5 separate regions of the Homo sapiens genome follow, and regions 1, 2, 3 and 4 are each linked to region 5. Evidence: promoter capture Hi-C in 16 types of primary human blood cells and fetal thymus (Javierre and others, 2016). All regions are on one chromosome and are shown on one strand. Each heading gives the region's core, a stretch centred on a gene start or on the middle of the fragment in contact. The rest is flanking DNA. Distances are from core to core; before and after follow the strand shown. Region 1 overlaps APBB1 (amyloid beta precursor protein binding family B member 1). Region 2 overlaps TPP1 (tripeptidyl peptidase 1). Region 3 overlaps ARFIP2 (ARF interacting protein 2). Region 4 has its middle 1.7 kb from the start of CNGA4. Region 5 holds the start of RRM1 (ribonucleotide reductase catalytic subunit M1).

What was found. Contacts are between HindIII fragments. The CHiCAGO score rates a contact against its expected background, and 5 or more counts as called.
Region 1: a fragment that was not itself captured here is called in contact with the fragment with the promoter of RRM1 in region 5 in 2 of 17 cell types (non-activated CD4 T cells and total CD8 T cells); the score reaches 6.7 in non-activated CD4 T cells.
Region 2: a fragment that was not itself captured here is called in contact with the fragment with the promoter of RRM1 in region 5 in 1 of 17 cell types (naive CD8 T cells); the score reaches 5.5 in naive CD8 T cells.
Region 3: a fragment that was not itself captured here is called in contact with the fragment with the promoter of RRM1 in region 5 in 4 of 17 cell types (M0 macrophages, total B cells, total CD4 T cells and 1 more); the score reaches 7.8 in M0 macrophages.
Region 4: a fragment that was not itself captured here is called in contact with the fragment with the promoter of RRM1 in region 5 in 3 of 17 cell types (M0 macrophages, M2 macrophages and naive CD8 T cells); the score reaches 5.7 in M0 macrophages.

What each region holds. Positions count from the first base shown.
Region 1 is chr11:6,400,531-6,403,230 of GRCh38, forward strand. APBB1 (amyloid beta precursor protein binding family B member 1) reads right to left here. Exons shown (of 15, transcript NM_001164.5): 6 at 2,615-2,678; 7 at 2,046-2,195; 8 at 1,552-1,679; 9 at 1,447-1,452; 10 at 1,044-1,158; 11 at 815-899; 12 at 459-542. Among named protein-coding and RNA genes, the nearest start is that of SMPD1, 11 kb to the left of the region's middle. The HindIII fragment of the contact is 2,462 bases long and covers 184-2,645 here.
Region 2 is chr11:6,613,250-6,615,749 of GRCh38, forward strand. It overlaps TPP1 (tripeptidyl peptidase 1), which reads right to left. Exons shown (of 13, transcript NM_000391.4): 10 at 2,193-2,313; 11 at 1,922-2,080; 12 at 1,617-1,742; 13 at 1-1,437. The coding sequence ends at 1,297. Among named protein-coding and RNA genes, the nearest start is that of TAF10, 2.3 kb to the left of the region's middle. The HindIII fragment of the contact is 2,784 bases long and covers 1-2,500 here.
Region 3 is chr11:6,478,327-6,481,026 of GRCh38, forward strand. ARFIP2 (ARF interacting protein 2) reads right to left here. Exons shown (of 8, transcript NM_001376558.2): 2 at 1,997-2,137; 3 at 1,646-1,742; 4 at 814-932; 5 at 412-633. The coding sequence starts at 2,095. Among named protein-coding and RNA genes, the nearest start is that of ARFIP2, 1.7 kb to the right of the region's middle. RefSeq lists enhancers at 2,598-2,700, 2,634-2,700. The HindIII fragment of the contact is 226 bases long and covers 1,336-1,561 here.
Region 4 is chr11:6,236,047-6,238,746 of GRCh38, forward strand. It overlaps a transcript of CNGA4 not described here. Among named protein-coding and RNA genes, the nearest start is that of CNGA4, 1.7 kb to the right of the region's middle. The HindIII fragment of the contact is 962 bases long and covers 871-1,832 here.
Region 5 is chr11:4,093,402-4,096,101 of GRCh38, forward strand. RRM1 (ribonucleotide reductase catalytic subunit M1) reads left to right here and starts at 1,398. Exons shown (of 19, transcript NM_001033.5): 1 at 1,398-1,630. The coding sequence starts at 1,612. RefSeq lists enhancers at 1,028-1,097, 1,158-1,627. The HindIII fragment of the contact is 7,950 bases long and covers 693-2,700 here.

The DNA.
Region 1 (2,700 bases), core at 165-2,664, 2.3 Mb after region 5:
GACTTGTCTTTAAAAAAAAAAAAAAAAAAATTCTTTGCAACAATGAAGTATGTGACAATTATGCTCACTGTTTCCTTCTCCAGATGCTCCCAGCCCACAGCTGGTGCTGTAACACTAAACCCAGCTACAGGCTGCTGTCTGGTGTCCTCCAGTCATCTAACATCAGCCTCCCAATCCCACCAAAGCTTTTCCATGGGATGAAGGAGTGGGGTCTCCCTTTGTGCCTGGTTCAGCACCACTCACGTGGCTGATGCTCAGCGAAGGCGTGCTGACTGCTGCTATAGGCAGGACAGGAAATAGAGCTAGGACAGAAGTATGGGGAGGTGGGATGCATTTTAAAGGGTAGGGAGACACCAAGCATGAGGAAGGTCTGGTAGAAGAAGTATTGGAAGGCAGAGGGTAGGGGCAGAGTTTTAGGATCAAGGTAGCAGCCCCTGGGTATAGAAGGACACACATACCAACAGGTTTAGCAACAGGTACATTCCCCAGGTAATAGACTTGGAACTTCTGGACCAACTCATTCTTAGGCGCTGGGAATTCCACTATGGGAAAGAAGAGAAGGTTGATCATGGTGGCAGACCTTGCTCACCCGCAGCCCCACCAGCAGGGCATAAGCTGGACACTTGCCCAGCCGAGGCCCTACTTTCATCTCGTCCCCTGCCTCCCTTTAACCGGAGTCCCTCCACGTATTGGAGTATTCAGTCTTCATGTGTTCATTTTTCTATCAGCGCTGTCCAGGAGCTCATGCCTTTCCTTGGGTCACCCACCTTTGCCAACAAAGCTGAGCTGGACCTGGAGGGGTTTTGACACTGACCTTGGAAAGGGACATCCACAAGTTTAGAGTGGTCCAGGGAGAGTCCATTTACCAAGCAGCGGGCATTACGCCGTTCGGCCATGATCTGAGGAAGGAAGGGAGGCGAGGAGCCAGGGAGAATCTATTAGAGCCTCATTGCCCTGGGGCCCCCCTACAGCACTCAGTGACCCCACCCACACCCTTGTAGAGCAAAGGTGGCAACTAGTCCAGGGAGTGGAGGGGGCCGTGCCTTAGAGCAGATCTCATGCAGGCTGGTGGCGATGTTCTTGGCAGGTGCCTCACAGCGAAACACGTGGCACTTGAGCATCTGGGTCAGCTTATCACGAGCTACGTAGGCAAAGTCCCTGTTGGGGAAGGGGCACCTCAGTGTCTCCCAGTACCATCCAGTGCTGAGCCTGGTCCCCACCCCACCCACGTCCTCCCTGCCCATCACAGCTCCTCCAGGGCTTCTGCCCACAGCTGGTCCCCCATAGGTGCTGCCTTCTTGGGGGGGAGGGGTAGACAGGCAAGCATGCTGAGGTGGAGGGTAATGGTGGAGCATAGCGGGTGGGAAGGGGCAGGGCAGAAGAGGGGAGCTTGGGTGCTTCCAGGCATCTGGTCCAGGTGTAGGAGGGGGAAAATAGGCATAGTACCTCTCTCTGGGTCCAGCAGCACAAGAGAGGCAAATAACAGAGTTAGAGAGGAGGACTCTGATGCTGGATGAACTCCCACCCTCGAATCCCAAGCCCTATTCCCACCTTCCACTGTCCCGCCCGACGCCCCACACGCGGATGCTGATGATGGGTTGGGCGTGCAGCAGTGCCTGGCTCTGTGGCTCCACTAGCTTTAGTGTCTCATCCTCCAGCTGCAGTAGCAGATCCTTTCCCTGCAGGACCAGAAGCAGGCACTCAGTGGGACTCCAGCCAGGATGGTGGCTGATCTCTGACCCCTGCAGCTCAGGGGATGTTAGCCACAGCTCTGGGGCCCCTGCTTTGGTGTCAGACCGCCCGCCCTGCAGGCCTCACTCTAGTGGAGGTCACGTGTCATCTCTCACATTGACTCCACCGTTGTTAGGCGACTATCTCCCAAGGTCCTGGCCTGGGGTCGCTCATCCATCCCACAGGGCTGCCACTTAGGATGGGCCAATATCCCCCTTCCCCAGCCTGCTTGTGGGCAGGTCAGACCTCCCATCTCTCATAATTCCCTTCACACTCTCACAGTACCACCCCCTACCCCCGGCTCAGGTCCTTACTTCCCCCCAGCCCCCAGACATGGGGTCATGCAGGTTGTTTTTGTGGTAAGAGAGCTGACGGATGCAATTGTTGACTGCCACACTGCTGCGTCCAGGGGCCAGCTCCTCCTCGGTCATCTCTACCCAGCCTAGGGAGCGCACGGCGAAACACTGCCAGACACAGAAGAGGGGCAGGAGGTAGAGGATCTGAGTCAAAACTGGAGAGTTCCTGACTACAGAGTGTGGCAGGAGGCAGGGTGTTCTGAACTAAGACGGAGAAGCTCCCCAAACAGGATGTGGTTAGGGAGAGGGGGATGTGGTTAGGGTGAGGGAGATGTCAGATGAGACCCCAGCTAGTACAAAAAAGCACCTGAACTAAGACTACAAGGGCCCCCAACCTGGCTGTTGGGCTGGTTGATTTAAAAACTGAAGTGCCTCCAGCTCAGACACAGGGCTCTGTGCTGAGACTGGAAGAACTCCTAACTCAGGACCTGGGGAACTGCGCTGAGACCCCTCAGAGCACAACATTAGGGGCTGTCTGACAAATAAGAGGGCCCCAGACTCAGAATGGGTGTCAGTCTTGAACAAACCTTGATCCCTGGGTTGGTATTCCGTGGGGGAAGCTTCTCCTCCTCTTGGGGCAACGGCTCTGGGCTGAAGGCAGATGGTAATACTT
Region 2 (2,500 bases), core at 1-2,500, 2.5 Mb after region 5:
CTGAACTGAGTCTTGCAAGAATTCTGGAAATTAACCTGGCAGTTGTATCAGGGGTGGTAAGGGGACGGAACAGCTTGAGCAAGAGTGAGAGTTCCTTGGGGTTTGGGGAGGGAGGAGGAAAAATGATTTTTTACTTAAGAACAAATAGCAAGGAAGGTTTGTGAGCTATGATTGGGGGCTGGAGGGGAAAGCCTGAATTCTATCCAGTAATCCTTGAAGGGTTTTCATCCAAGTGGCCTGATGGGATTTGCATTTTACTCTGGAAGATGACTTGGGGATTGGCAGGAAGTAAGGACACTTTTTTTCAAGAGAATATAGCCCTAAACTAAGGTAGTAGCAGTGGGGATATAAGTGGATAAGTTCTAGATATACTTGGGAAATATAATTGGAAGGACTTGTGGACTGATAAAGATATATTTAAGATGTGCAGTCAGTAGGACTTGTTGATTGAGGACTTGTTGATTGAAGGTGGGGTGAAAAGATGACACAGGTTTCTGGCTTGGTTGGAAAAAGCATAGCATCATTTACCAAGAAGAAACGAGATGGAATTGTTTGGGGTTGGGAAGGTGGACGATGAAATGTTGAGTATCACGCATCTTACATTTGAGGTATCAATCATTATTGGATAGAAAGTCTTATTTAGTGAGATGGTAATGGTTGTAGATGTCAGTGATTTGTTCCAGGGGACAATGAGTAAACTGAGAAGAGCAAAAATCTACAAATGGAGCAATGAAGGTCAGCATTCCATGAAGAAGCAGAAATTGATGAGAGAGGAAGACAAGAGTAGTCAGAGAAGTTAAGACCTGGAAGCTAAGTAAGGAGAGGGAGTGGGCAACTATGATGGAAAGGCCATAAAGCAAAGATTGAGAAGTATGCACTGGAGGCCATTGTTTCTGGATGTCAGGGTAGGAAAGAGTAAACGGTGACAGTAGAGGTCTCCTTGCAGTGAATTGGGGAATGAATATCAAGTGAAATAGTGCACAGAGTCTGTATACAACCCTTTGGAAAAGCCTGATTGAAAAGAGAAAGATGAGATGCGGAGGGAGAGGCATTCAAAAAATGCTAGTTACAGCATCTTATTGAGGAATCTAAGGCAGGAGTAGGGAGACCTGAGTATGATGGAGCATGGTAGGGTTGGGAGTCAAGTCAAGCTCACAGCATTTCAGGGTTAGGGAGATAAGCTGTCTGCAGCAGTCAATAGTTGAGGGTTCAGCAGGGCTTCCAACAGGGCAGAATAAGGGACTGAACTGCCAGCTTCAGGGCAGGGGACAAGCCATCTCTCCTGATAGGAAAGGGTCAGGGGTTGAGTAGAGTCTTCAGCAAAGCTGGGAAGTTGGGTGTTCCCCAGCCTGTTACAGGATCCCAGCCAGGACCAGAGCAGAAACCCTGGCCCTCTACCTCTTCATCCAGACAGGACTCATGGCAGCCACGGGTTACCTAGGGAGGAGGCTGGCATCAGATCTGGGCCTACTAGTACCAGTACTTAAAGAGTATATCTCCTCACCCTGTACTCACATTTCAAAGGCTATTCCACACCACCCTAACTGCCCCCAAGTCCCCCTTAGCACTCCCCATAGTTGTTTGAAAACGTCCACACCCTTCCCTTCCATACTTACATCAAAGAGTCCTGCCCCATGCTGCTGGTAGAGCCTTGGGTTGAGAAAGCCAAGAGGGGGGCGGCCACTAAGGATCCTGTGCTCATTGATCAAGGATAGGATCCCCCCAAACACTGGAGTAGAGGCCTACAAGAGTGAAGGTGCAAGTAGAGGTCAGGGGTTCTGAGTGATTGGACTTTTTGGGAGTGATGCTTTAAAGTATCAGACATCTCTAAGGAGTCAGGGGTTCTAGGTGCAAGGTGTTCAAGGTGTTAGGGGGTAAGGGTAGTTCCTGAGTGAGAGTTTGGAGATGGGCTGATTCTCACCGAGGTTCCGGACACCCATGGAATGGGCACTCTGTTGCTGACCACCCAGTAGCCATCAGAAAGTGCAGCCACATCTGGGTAGGCACGGCCACTGGCATTGAAGTAACTGGATGGTGGCAGGTGGGGGCTAGAGCTCAGGAACTTCGTTACAGCTTCCTCCTGAAAGGCATTTTTGAGTGAGTATTGGCATGTGGCCTGCCCAGCAGTCAGCTGAACTGAGGATCCCCCATCCTCACTCTTACCCTGCATCCATCCACACAAACACACGTACCTGGTATGAAGGCCGTGGGAACACATTGCTGAAGCCACCACCACTGATATAGTCAACAATTTCATTTGTGATGAGGAAAGGTTCCTGGAAGGATGTGCCTCCCACTGTGGTGACATAGGGGCTGAGGGGAGAAGACAGCATTTGGATAGTAGGGGACCCAAGGGGACCTCCAAGATATGTGGGGAGGGGTGAGTATAGCCCAGGTCTTGCTGGAGGAACTAGACTCTGTGGGGAAGCATGTATATGGGATTGACTAAGAGATTTTGAGCCTTCAAGGCATGGCCCGAGGTGACTGTGCACACTTTTCT
Region 3 (2,700 bases), core at 199-2,698, 2.4 Mb after region 5:
CAGCAAGGCTCTCTTAGCCGGAAAGTTAGTGGGATCACCCTGGGGATACCTGGGGTAGGAATGTGGGTGGTGGGCATTCTTGGGTAAGTTCACAAGACTGGAACAGTCTGAGAGCTAGTGTGGCAAGCAGGGGAGGGGCTCTGATTAGGCTGAGCACGAAGGCATTCTCCCCAGTGCAGAGAGGGGTTATTTGTGAGGCACCTAGTGTGCCCCCTCCCCCACCCCCTCCAACTTCTGGACCTCTGTACAAACCCTTAGGCTGCCTCCACAGGTGAGTGCTGCTGGGGGTAGGGCTGGGCCCACCCTGAAGGGGTTCTCCCTGTGGGCTGCAGGAGGGAGGGAGGATGAGGAATGACTGCCTGGGAGGGCCCATGCCCAGTTCCCCCACCCTCTTTGGTCTGGGTGAGGCACCTGAAGCTCTGGGGACTTCTGGCTGAGGTCAGCAAAGGCATCACCCAGTGCATGCTGGGTCTGCAGCAGGCTGTAGAGGTGGGCTGTCAGTGCCCGGCCCAGCTGCAGGACACTCTCATACTTGCGCTTCGTCTCACGCAGCAACTCAATCTGCAGCTCTAGCTCCAGGTCCACAGTCCGTGAGCCTCGACCAAATCGTTCTGATAACAGTTGCTTTGTGCACTGATTGGGAAATGGGGGAATAAATCAGAGACCCTAACAGCCTCCCCACACAACAGGTATCTACCCCAGCACCCCCCAGGCTCCTACTCTCAGCCACAGATGGGATATTACGATCACGAAGAAAAGGGAAAAAGGTACCCATAAGGAGTTTTGGGGAAGGGAGAGGTGCTTAAATCCTACCTTATAGGTGTTGATGCCCCATTTCTTGACGATGTCAAACTTTTCTCCAGCAATGCCCCGAGCCACCTCATCTCCAGGGCCAGAAGGAGTGGTGCTGTGAGATGGATGGCGGCCAGACCCTAAAGGATCAAGTTCTCTGACACCAGCCTCTCTCAGATACACCAGACACCTCTGTGGCCCCACCCATACTTCTCTTCGAGCACATGAAATTGACTTCCCTGAAGGAGATGCTAGAGACAACTGGATGCTCCTGCTTACTAGGAGGAACTCGGACTTTGCGCGGTGAGAACCAAATCCTGATATACATATGGCCTCCTTGGGGGTTAGAGGAGGGGTTTGCAGGGAGTTGTTGGTGTACAGGGGCAGAGGAAACAGAAGAAAATACACTGAGTTTGGGGGCAGCAGGAGTCAAGGATGGTGGGTCATGATAACAAGAAACCTGGTTGCATTCCCATGTGGAATCTTAGTGTGAGATTCAGGGCTGTTTGTTCCTCTAAACTTTAGAATCTAAAAATTCTGAGAAGCTTCACAAAGTTCCAACTCAGCCTCAAGCTGTAGAGGGGGGGCATTCCTGTGAAGCAGGTCTTAACTTGACTCAGGTGGTGGCAGGGAAAGGACAAATGAGCCATTTCAGGGGCTAAGTGGCAAAAGGGAAATGGATGGACAACGCTGGGAGTTGCTTTTGGGCTGAGGAGAGTCCATGAGGTTCCTACAAGCAGAAGTTCCCAAGATCTCCAGACATAATTCAAGCTTTCCTAGACATATCCTATGCTTCCCCAAACCATTCCTGTCCCCTCCTCCACCCAAGATTCCTGTTTCTGAACATTCATACCTGTGGGGATGAGTCCATCACCAGAGCCCCCATAGCCACCAGACACAATGCTGGTTTCATTGAGGTTGGGTCCTGACACCATCACCTGCTGGAGGTCCTATAGGCCAGAGAAGAGGGGTTGCTTCAGGAACATAGGGGCTGCAGAAGCATTTTGGAGGTGGGAACAAGTTTGGATTCAAGCATCATAAAGATAGTACACAAGGGAAGTCTGCACAGAATCAAAATGATACGTAAAAAGAATGAAGGGAGTCAGATAAGTCAGGGGAAGGCTACTGGAATGGAGGGTGAGAACCTAGGATTTATAAATTGGATTCCTAAATTGAAACAATTAGAAGAATCAAACAGAAGCACCTGCTCCAGCCCATCATCTTCAGGAAGCTGCCTGGCTTCGCCGTTCCCGTGGATAGGGATCTCCATTGTGGCTGCCTTCCCTAGGATCCCGTCCGTCATGGCTAGGAAAGGTATTGGAGTAAAACTCTCCACCCCAGCACCCTGCAAAGCCCAACACAGAAGTTCTGGACACTGGCCAGCACTCTAGAAGAAGGAGGCCTCCTCTGTCATTTCTTTAAAGGCTGTCCCAGGGTTTGAGTGTCCCAGCGTTTGGCCATCATTCCTTTCTTCAGATATATGTATTTCTCCCCTCCAAAACGCACATTTGAAACAGGCACACCAAAGCACGGTGTCTTCTCACAAGCCCCCAACCTCACCAGGACTCTGGTGATTATTTCTACACTCATTCAGCAGACATTTAGTGAGTGCCTACTATGTGTCAGGCACTATTTGTGACAATGAAAATACAACAGTGAAGAGGGAAAGTCTGCTCTCTTAGAACTTATCTCCATGCAGGCGTGTTTATGCTGAGGAGATGAACCCTTTCCAGGGCTCAGGTCTTCACCCCCCTATTCAGGTTTGTTCTCCATTGCTTGGCCTTTCACATTCCTTTAGCGTTTCTTCCCCCTTCCTTCAGGGGGTCTCCCCTCCTCCGTCTCATACACCTCGTCTTCCTCGGGCCCTCCCCACCAGGCCTTAGTTAGATCAGTGGGTGTATGTTCCCA
Region 4 (2,700 bases), core at 102-2,601, 2.1 Mb after region 5:
GATAAGGAATTTATGAGAACTCTGTATTATTTTTGCAACTTTTCTGTAAGCCTAAAATTAGTTCAAATAAAAAGTATTTAAAAAGAAATAGAAGTTTCAGACCAAAGGATCAGCATATACCAGGGAAAGGAAGAATGGACAGCATGTGGGAGGTGCTGTAAGAACTGCAATCAGTACAGTGTGTCGGGAGCCTAGGGAACATGTGAGGAAACATTGTGAGATGAGGCTGAAGACATGGACTGGAGAACTTTATAAACCATGTTAAGGAATTTAGATTTTATTTTTGGGATGATAGCTATAAAGAATTTTATACATAGATTGATAGTTATACAGTAACTTTGCAAAAGACCAAACAAGCTGATAAGGCCCAAACTAGAGTAGCAAAAATGCAGAGAAGTGGACATGTGGATTTTTAGAAGGTAGATCACCATGGTTTGATGATTGGGTGGATATAAGAGGAAAATAAGAGGAAGAATTAAAAACTAATGCTTAGTTTATATAAATTCAAAAACAGGTAAAACTAAACTGTGATATTAGAATTCAGGATAGTGATTATTCTTGGAAAAACATTGACTGAAAGGGGCAGAGTGGGGCTCCTGAGGCACTGGTGATGTTCTGTTTCTTGATCTGAGTGCTTGGTTATATGGGTGTGTTCACTTTGTGAAAATGTATTAAGCTATATACTTAAGGATTGTACACCTTTCTCTGTGTTTGTTTGTTCTGGTTACTATGCTATGTGACAAACCAACCCAAACTTAGTGTCATAAAAACAATAGCCATTTTATTATGTGCACAAATTCTGGGAATTTGGACGAGATGCAACAGGAATGGCTTGTCTCTATTCCATGATGTCTGGGGCCTTATTTGTAAAGCTTGAACATCTAGAGGTGGTTTGAGGCTGGTGGCTGGAAGCATCTGGAGGCTTCTTCAGTCACACATCTAATTCCTGGGCTGGGATAATGAAAAAGCTGAACTCATTGGGCAAACTGTCAAACAGAACTTCTCACAATGTGATGGGTAGGTTCCAAGAGGGAACATTCTGAGAGGGAGCTACCAGACAACACGCATTCCAAGAGAACCAGAGGGAAGCTGCATGGCCTTTTATGATCTAGCCTTAGAAGTCACACAACATCACTCCTGCTATACAAACTATCACAAGGGAGTGGTGTCGAAGAATTTGTGACCATTTTTTTTAACTGCCACAACATTATACAGTAAATAGTAATAAATGCTTGTCATAGGTTTTTTTGCTGAAAGGGCATAGATAGGAATTCTAGAAGAAAAAGTGGAGGAAGATAATGAGCTTAGTTATAGACCCAATGGGTTGAAGGTGACCGCGGGATACCCAAGTAGGAACATCCAGTGAGCAGTTAGTCATATAGATAACTGAAACTCAGGGAGAGTTCTCGGGAGCCACTATATGAGAAAGGAAGTCCTGTGGGTGACTGACGTCAATCAGACAGAGTTAGGAGGATGGCAAAAGTAGAAAGCCTAGAACAGAATCCAAGAAAAAAAAAAAACACCATCATAGAAGGAATAGACAGAGGAGCTTATGAAAGACACTAAAAAGAAACAGCAAACCAAGACATTATGGCATTACAAAGGATTTTATTCATTTTGTTGCATTACTTTGAATGTTGTCTTTTTATTTTAACAAGCGTAATACTTTGCAAAAAGAAATTAAGAAGCCATGGGAAAAGAGAGTTTTTCAAAATTTAATTAGGGACCACAGGTTTTTCTTCTAAAACACACTCCAAAAACACAAACCTGATTTTATCACTGAACTGTGAAAAACTCTTCACAGGTTCTCTATTGCCGTTGGGTAAAATCCAAGCTTTATAACATGGCTGACAGAACTCCTCCTGAGCTGGCCTCTGTCTATCATTCAACCTCATCTCTCACCACTACCCGCTAGGCCCTCTAAAATAAGCCAATTGATATTTGCCCAGTCACCCACGCTTTTTGATATCTCTATGCCTTTGCCCACTCTGTGCATTCTGCCTCTAGTGCTCTTCACCCTCCCATCTCTGTACCCAACTCCTATTCATCCTGCAGAACCCAGGCTCTGTAGGGCCACTTCATGTGTACTATAATAGCCTTCCGTGTATCCAGCTAACAGAGTACTCATCAGCAGCCTGGCAATGACTGCTGCTGTTTAGTTACCTCATGTGTAATTACCTGCTGGCCTGACTATTTCACCTAGCAGACTGTGAGCTTCTGGAGAAGGGGGAGCGTGTCTTATTCATCTCCAATTCCTAGTATTTAGCACAATATTGGCCTGGCACACAGAACACCTGCCTATGGGTGTTCTGATTTTGATTTGTTGACTGAGAAAGATGATAGCAGTGAAAGGAACATCAGGTTGAGGGAGAAATTGTAGGGTTTTTGTTTGTTTTGATATAGGAGATATTGAAGCAGGTTCACAAAAAGAGAAAAGTTGAAAGATTGGGGACCATAAAACACATGGAATGGTTGGTAGGATCAGGCACTAGAAGTCACAAGAAGGATATGAGGACAAAAGCACCATAGGATGGCCCCTATCACACTACCTATGAGAATGGTGTGATGGGGGAAGGCGTATGTGGAGGTAGATAAGGGTAGGAAGTAGGTTACAAAAATAGAGCTCACTTCTCATGTGAGAGGCATCTCTTTGTCCCTGGAGAATAGTTTAGCACCTGACATAGATAAGCCATTCAGTAA
Region 5 (2,700 bases), core at 148-2,647:
TCTCATGCAGTATCTGGGACACATTTTTATTTGCTAAATTGGGAAACCCTATGTCTGGGTAAACTTGACCCTATCTATCCTATAACTTCACTTACGACTTTTAAAAAACATATCTATTTAATTTTTCTTTCTTTTTTTTTGTTTTTTTTGAGACGGCGTCTCACTCTCTTGCCTAGGCTAGGGTGCAATGGCGCGATCTTGGCTCACTGCAACCTCTGCCTCCAGCGTTCAAGCGATTCTTCTGCCTCAGCCTCCTGAGTAGCTGGGATTACAGGCGCGTGCTACCATGCCTGGCTACTTTTTGTATTTTTAGCAGCGGGGGGGTTTCACCACGTTGGTTAGGCTGGTCTCGAACTCCTGACCTCGTGATCTGCCCGCCTTGGCCTCCCATAGTGCTGGGATTACAGGAGTGAAGCACCGCGCTGGCCTACTTTTTCTATTTTTTGTAGAAATGGGGTCTCACTATGTTGCCCAGGCTTATCTCAACACCTGGCCTCACATGATGCTCCCGCCTTAGCCTCCCAAAATGCTGCAATTACAGGCTCACTTACGACTTTCCATGATTTTTGAAATTACTTCACAGGGAGCCTGGGCAGCTTCTGGAGGGCAGTGAGAAACCAACGAAAAGGCTTTAGGGAAAAGATGCCACAGATGAAATTTCATAAAGATCGCTTTGGGTAGCCCAAATCAGAAGCTTCTACACCAGCCTTACATATTACGGTTCTCATCTATTCTTATTCTCCACTCTAAGTCACCAAGTCCATCCTACCTCCACAAGGCAAATACCCTGTCTCTGCCACCATCCACTGAAGAACCCTAAAAGCAAATGGGTACTGACCCTGCCCTGCTTAAAATTCTCTCAGGGCTCTGATTTGCGTCAGGATAAAATCCAAACGCCATCGGCCTTGCGCGGTTTTCTTCCAGTTCCAGAGTGTCAGTCCTCTGGCCGATCTAAAAGCCCTGGGGCTCCAAGCTGCCCACGGCTGTGGAGCCTGGGCTGGAGCCCACAGCGGACGGCAGTGTTAGTATTATTATAATAAATGTCAGAGCAAGAAAAACGTTCCCGCCGGTTAGGTTTTGTTATTTCAAAAATAAATTAACCGCCTTTCCTCCGGCGGAGACGCGCAGGTGAGAGGGCGGCGCCTGACCCAGCGGGCTCTAGGTGCTACGCCAGGGCCCCGAGGGTCCCGAACTCGGCTTGCCCACACAAAACATGGTAGCAGGAGAGCAGCATTTCCGCCGGGCATGTCCATATCCAATGGGGCCCATGGGAGAGGCGTAGTCTTCTGGGTCTTGCCCAGACTCAACATGGCGGCTACACGTCGCCTGTCAGTCTGTGAAGCCTACCCCGGGCGTGGGCCGCAGCGTCGAGTAACGTCATTCGAACCCCGTCGCGCCCCTTTGTGCGTCACGGGTGGCGGGCGCGGGAAGGGGATTTGGATTGTTGCGCCTCTGCTCTGAAGAAAGTGCTGTCTGGCTCCAACTCCAGTTCTTTCCCCTGAGCAGCGCCTGGAACCTAACCCTTCCCACTCTGTCACCTTCTCGATCCCGCCGGCGCTTTAGAGCCGCAGTCCAGTCTTGGATCCTTCAGAGCCTCAGCCACTAGCTGCGATGCATGTGATCAAGCGAGGTGAGGGGGGGACGAGGTGGGCGAGAAGGAAGGTGAGGGGATGCGGGCTGCCGCCGCCGGAGCTGATGCCCAGACCGCCCGCCCGCCTTCGCTGCTTCCCGCCTTTCCCGCATTTCCCGCCGCGGCCTTCCGCCCTGTCAGCCCGCTCGGCCTTCTGTCTTCAGTCAGCCTGCCCCGAACCTCCTTCGGGCCTTCAGGCTGCGCCCCCTCGGCTTTGTCATCCTGCCGCCTTTCAAAAGGATAACACTTACCCCGTATCGAGTAGTGACTGCGTACGCCGAGCACTTGCCAGGCACTATTTTATTCCTCCCTGCAAGCCTCTGAGAGATGATTAGCTTATTACAGATGAGGAAACTGACGCTCAGAGCGAGGTGTCGCCGACTGACCCAAAGTCACCCATAGGTGACAATACGGTTTGATTTGAAAACCGTGGGGTTGGTGAGCTGTCTTAGGCACAGGGTCGGGGGGCAGCTAGGAAAGAAGGAGGGGGCCTCTCTACCCTCCGTAGGCACTTGTCAGTTTACTGATCTCTTTTGTGGGGTGAGGATAGGAGTGTGGCGTGGAAAAAACAGATCCCAGACAGACAGCACCCTCGAGTTCCTTTCCCTTCATGGGAAGAGATGCTGAATCAGAGAAGGGTGGCTGAGACATCTTCTGACAAGATGGGGACTGGGAAGAGTCAGGAACTCGTATTCTTTCTCAACAGTTCTTTTTCATTAGACTTGCCAAGTGCCCGCTTTGTGCCCAGCCCTTTGCTTGGCTTTGTGAGATTGTAGGAGGAGACAGTCCCTGCCTTGGGAACAGGCTTCATCGGGTTGGAAAAACAAGAGCAACATACTTTTAACAACCGCATGAGATACGTATGAACAAGTTTTGAGTTGAACCTACTTGCCTTTGTTAAAGCAATACAATGATTTCAAAATTGTAGGCACTTAGTAAATACTGGTTAATCGACTGGTTGTTTCTATTTTGTCCTCTAGGCTGTGAACATTTCAAAGATGGAGACTTGTTTGAGACAGAGTCTTGCTCTGTCACCCAGGATGGAATGCAGTGGTGTAATCATAGCTTAC